Regions from separate parts of the Homo sapiens genome. Here region 1 is linked to region 2. The links are contacts of gene promoters, found by promoter capture Hi-C in human tissues and cell types (Jung and others, 2019). All regions are on one chromosome and are shown on one strand. Each heading gives the region's core, a stretch centred on a gene start or on the middle of the fragment in contact. The rest is flanking DNA. Distances are from core to core; before and after follow the strand shown.

Region 1 (2,719 bases), core at 18-2,517, 48 kb after region 2:
CCTGGGTGACAGTGAGACCCTGTCTCAATGAAATGAAATGAAATAAAATAATTAAAAAATTTAAAAAGTGAATGAGATAAAAAAAAAAAATCGCACTGGTCTCTAGGGTTCCCATAGAGGCTGAACACTGATATTTTAGTCAAGATTTCAGGCCAGGCTCACGCCTGTAATCTCGACACTTTGAGAGACTGAGGTGGGAGGATTGCTTGAGCCCAGGAGGTCAAGGATACAGTGAGCTATGATTGCACCACTGCACTCCGGCCTGGGAGACAGAGTGAGACCCTATCTCCCCTGCAAAAAAAAGTTGAACTTTTTTTAAAAATTATTTTTTATTTTGCCTTGCTGTTCGTGAGCTGTATCAAAAAAAATTTTTTTTTTCTTTTGAGACAGAGTCTCGCTCTGTCACCAGCCTGGAGTGCAGTGGTGCCATCTTGGTTGGCTCACTGCATCCCAGGTTCAAGCGATTCTCCTGCCTCAGCCTCCCGAGTAGCTGGGATTACAGGTATGCGCCACCACACCCAGCTAATTTTGTATTTTTAGTAGAAATCGGGTTTATCCATGTTGGTCAGGCTGGTCTCGAACTCCTGACCTCAGGTAATCTGCCCACCTCGGCCTCCCAAAATCCTGGGATTACAGGCGTGAGACACTGCACCCGGCCATAATTTTTGTGTTTTTAGTAGAGATACCTGGGGTTTCATCACGTTAGCCAGGATGGTCTTGATCTCTTGATCTCGTGATCTGCTCGCCTCGGCCTCCCAAAGTGCTGGGATTACAGGCGTGAGCCACCGCGCCCAGCCAAAAAACATTTTTTTTAGACGGAGTCTTGCTTTGTCACCCAGGCTGGAGTGCAGTGGCATGATCCCGGCTCACTGCAACCTCCGCCTCCTAGGTTCAAGTGATTCTCCTGCTTCAGCCTCCCGAGTAGCTGGGATTACAGGCACTGGTCTCAAACTCCTGACCTCAAGTGATCCACCTGCCTCGGCTTCCCAAAGTGCTGGGATTACAGGTGTGAGCCACTGTGCCCAGCCTGTATCAAAAAATTTTTAAACAAAACTGCAAAAATTATTGTAGCCAACCCAGAAAAAAACTCTCCTCAATATTATCTGTTATTATGTCTAATAAAGAATATTCACATAAAGCTCCTAAGAATTATCTTTCTTTGCTTTTTTTATTTTTTCTAAGAGATGGGATCTCCCGGTATTGCCCAGGCTGGTCTCATGCTCCTGGCTTCAAGTGATCCTCCCTGTCCTGGGCTCCCAAAGTTCTGGGATTACAGGCATGAGCTACCATGCCCAGCTCCATCTTTCTAAAACAAAAACTGAATTATGTTTCTTTTCTGCCTCAAAACCCTTCAATCATCAACGACAACAAAAAGTTCAAACCCCCCAGCATGGCTTTCACTCCCAGGCTACATGACCATTCACTCTCTGGCTGGCAGAGGTGAAGAAAAATGGCCTTTGGAATCAGATGTCTCTGGGTTGAAATTTTAGCTTGACCACTCTTTGGGTGGGTTCTGAGAACCCAAAGAAAGTGAGAGAGGCCTATGACTATTTCAGCTCTTGAAACTTCTGGTATTTTTTTTCCATTGAGATATTAATTCACCTACTATAAAATTCCTCCTTAAGCAAAATTGGGGCTGGGCATGGTGGCTCACGCCTGTAATCCCAGCACTTTGGGAGACTGAGGCAGGTGGATCGCTTGAGGTCAGGATTTCAAGACCAGCCTGGCCAACATGGCGAAACTCTGTCTCTACTAAAAATACAAAAATTAGCCAGGAGTGGTGGTGCACGCCTGTAATCCCAGCCACGTAGGAAGCTGAGCACAAGAATTGCTTGAACCCAGGAGGCAGAGGTTGCAGTGAGCCAAGATTGCACCACTGCACTCCAGCCTGGGTGACAGAGTGAGACTCTGTCTCAAAATGAAAAACAAAACAAAACAAAACAAAACAAAACAAAACAAAACAAAACAAAAGGTCATGTTTGCCTGTAGAATACTTTCTTACATGCAGGAGACTTTCTCTTAGACACACGCCTGGAGGCGTCTGAGAGGGACAGGCTGGGCTCACCAATTCGAACTTCTGCCAATGCCCTGCATGTCTCTCTCACTAAGAGCTAAGCCAAGACTTCCCCTGTCATCACCACTGCCTGTGGTCAGTCCTCTATTACCAACAGAGGGAAACAGAATGCAATTGAGGAGAACCAACTAATTGCGAAAGCAAAGCCTGAGAAACCCCATGAGTGATGGATCCACCAATTCTGGTGGCCACAGGGAGGTCCCTGGTGTCTGGCTGCATGCTGGCCATGGTGACCAGGTGTCCTTGGGCAGGAGATGGCTTCAAATGCAGACCGGAGTCCTAGCGATCCAAGTGGTTCTTTGAGAAACCAAAACACCACAAAGCTCCCCCTGGACTGTACCATTGAGCTCTCAATCACAATTCAGCCGAGGACATTGTCTTAGTCCACCAGGGCTGCCATGACACGGTACCATGGGCTGCATGGCTTACAAACAACAGTTCATTTCCCATGGTTGTGGAGGCTGGAAGTCCAAGATCAAGGCGGCAGCAGATTCAGCGTCCGAGGAGGATGGTGAGGACCTGCCACCTGATGCATAGATTTCCTCTCTGTGTCCCCACACAGCACAAGGGAGAAGGGAGCTCTCTGGGGGCCTCTTTGATTAGGGCATGACTCCCATTCCTAAGGGCTGCACCCTGATGACCCGA
Region 2 (3,068 bases), core at 247-2,746:
GAGGCAGGGGAGAATGTGGGTGGACAGATTTGGAGTCCAGCATCCAGTGGGAAGAATTTAGCTTCAGTGTGCATCTAGAAGACAGACACATTCTTTCAATGCACCCCCTCTTTTCCGCCCCATTTTTTTTTTTTGAGACAGAGTTTCTTTCTGTCACCCAGGCTGGAGTTCATTGGCACGATCTCGGCTCACTGCAACCTCCACCTCCCGGGTTCAAGTGATTCTCCTGCCTCAGCCTCCTGAGTAACTGGGATTACAGACACATGCCACAACACCTGACTGATTTTTGTATATTTTTAGTAGAGATGGGGTTTCACCATGTTGGCAAGGCTGGTCTTGTACTCCTGACCTCAAGTCATCCACCTGCCTCGGCCTCCCAAAGTGCTGGGATTATAGATGTGAGCCACCGCGACTGGCCTCCACCCCATTTTCTTCTTTCTTTCTTTTTTCTTTTTCTTTTTCTTGTTGTTTTGTTTGTTTGTTTGTTTGTTTGTTTTAGACGGAGTCTGGTTCTGTCACCCAGACTGGAGTGCAGTGGCGCAATCTTGGCTCCCTGCAAGCTCTGCCTCCCGGGTTCACGCCATTCTCCTGCCTCAGCCTCCCGAGTAGCTGGGACTACAGGCGCCCGCCACCACGCCTGGCTCATTTTTTTGTATTTTTAGTAGAGACGGGGTTTTACCGTGTTAGCCAGGATGGTCTCCATCTCCTGACCTGGTGATCCGCCCGCCTGGGCCTACCAAAGTGCTTGGATTACAAGCGTGAGCCACCGCGCCCGGCCTCCACCCCATTTTCTAAACTGGAAGCTGAAAGGCACAGGGCAGATTAATAATCCTTAAAGCCAAAGGACAGGAAATTTTAGCAAAGACTCCAATTTTTTGTGCAGTCTAATGTTACTCATGATTGCTTTAGAGATGGACTCCTTAATCAACTCCTCCAATCCTCTTCCGCCCCCAGGGGGCAGTTTTAATTGATGGGCTCAGCACATAATTGAAATTAAAAACGTACATCTCATGGTGTTTGGCTCATTCAACAGCCAATGGAAACTCAGGGCCAAATCTTTGTAAAAGTTCTAGGCTCTGCTTCCCAGCAGAGGGGGAAACCGGCTCCCAAAGAGGCCGTTTTGTGGAGACAGACATATGAGAAGTGGGCTTCAGATCTATTTCATGGTCTTGGTGGTTGTGCAACTGGCCACTTTGGTTCACGGAAGGATGTAAAGGGCAGGGAGGTGGGAATAGAGCGGGGGAAAGGTGACTCCCGTCAAAGAATTTTTCTAACATCCATCAAGTATCGTGATTAGAACTTTTCTCTCCGCAGACTCCTCCAATTTTTGAGCGCGGTATTTTTCGGCACAGGAAATGGCCCGGAGGAGCTGCAGAGCAAAGCCTCCCCTCTCTGGCACCGCATGGGAGTGCCCCGTGGGATGAGGGAGAGGACAAGGCAGTCAGGCAAAGGTTACGGGAGGAAAGCAAAGGCAGGAGCCCAGAACCACTCCAGGAAATGTTTGGATTTCTCCACCAGGAGGGAGGACAAACAAGCTTTCTTCTTGCCTTCTGGGCAGCTTTGTGTGCTCTCCAGCACGGAGTCCGAGGAGGAACAGCGAAGCTGAAAATGAAAATTACTCTGGCGCTGGACCCAATCGCTCCTCTACGGCATCAATCTCATCGGACCCCCCCACCCTACCGCCTCTCAGAAATGACCACTTTTGCAAAATTGCATGCATTTCCAAGCTTCATCCGGCTCCAGGCTTGGCCTCTCCCAGAGGCAGGCGGCTTGTGAGACGGGCTCCAGAGAAAGGACCTCCCTGGGTCTCTCATTTCCTGGCTGAAGTTTCTCTTCTCGCTGCTGTGGCAGCATCCAACCCACACACACAGGACCCGCATCCTGGGTGATGAAGTCAGACACGCAGCAGCTGGGTGAGTGCTAACGCTCAGATAAGCATCTGTGCCATTGTGGGGACTCCCTGGGCTGCTCTGCACCCGGACACTTGCTCTGTCCCCGCCATGTACAACGGGTCGTGCTGCCGCATCGAGGGGGACACCATCTCCCAGGTGATGCCGCCGCTGCTCATTGTGGCCTTTGTGCTGGGCGCACTAGGCAATGGGGTCGCCCTGTGTGGTTTCTGCTTCCACATGAAGACCTGGAAGCCCAGCACTGTTTACCTTTTCAATTTGGCCGTGGCTGATTTCCTCCTTATGATCTGCCTGCCTTTTCGGACAGACTATTACCTCAGACGTAGACACTGGGCTTTTGGGGACATTCCCTGCCGAGTGGGGCTCTTCACGTTGGCCATGAACAGGGCCGGGAGCATCGTGTTCCTTACGGTGGTGGCTGCGGACAGGTATTTCAAAGTGGTCCACCCCCACCACGCGGTGAACACTATCTCCACCCGGGTGGCGGCTGGCATCGTCTGCACCCTGTGGGCCCTGGTCATCCTGGGAACAGTGTATCTTTTGCTGGAGAACCATCTCTGCGTGCAAGAGACGGCCGTCTCCTGTGAGAGCTTCATCATGGAGTCGGCCAATGGCTGGCATGACATCATGTTCCAGCTGGAGTTCTTTATGCCCCTCGGCATCATCTTATTTTGCTCCTTCAAGATTGTTTGGAGCCTGAGGCGGAGGCAGCAGCTGGCCAGACAGGCTCGGATGAAGAAGGCGACCCGGTTCATCATGGTGGTGGCAATTGTGTTCATCACATGCTACCTGCCCAGCGTGTCTGCTAGACTCTATTTCCTCTGGACGGTGCCCTCGAGTGCCTGCGATCCCTCTGTCCATGGGGCCCTGCACATAACCCTCAGCTTCACCTACATGAACAGCATGCTGGATCCCCTGGTGTATTATTTTTCAAGCCCCTCCTTTCCCAAATTCTACAACAAGCTCAAAATCTGCAGTCTGAAACCCAAGCAGCCAGGACACTCAAAAACACAAAGGCCGGAAGAGATGCCAATTTCGAACCTCGGTCGCAGGAGTTGCATCAGTGTGGCAAATAGTTTCCAAAGCCAGTCTGATGGGCAATGGGATCCCCACATTGTTGAGTGGCACTGAACAAGCAGACCAACAACACTGAGGAAG

The links. Contacts are between HindIII fragments. The study calls those that stand out against the background at their distance.
Region 1: a fragment that was not itself captured here is called in contact with the fragment with the promoter of HCAR1 in region 2 in 2 of the 25 tissues and cell types used here (bladder and liver).

What each region holds. Positions count from the first base shown.
Region 1 is chr12:122,681,435-122,684,153 of GRCh38, reverse strand. No RefSeq gene overlaps it. Among named protein-coding and RNA genes, the nearest start is that of MIR9902-1, 13 kb to the left of the region's middle. The HindIII fragment of the contact is 5,388 bases long and covers 1-2,719 here.
Region 2 is chr12:122,729,272-122,732,339 of GRCh38, reverse strand. HCAR1 (hydroxycarboxylic acid receptor 1) reads left to right here and starts at 1,496. Exons shown (of 1, transcript NM_032554.4): 1 at 1,496-3,068. The coding sequence starts at 2,001. The coding sequence ends at 3,041. RefSeq lists an enhancer at 2,067-2,734. The HindIII fragment of the contact is 12,382 bases long and covers 1-3,068 here.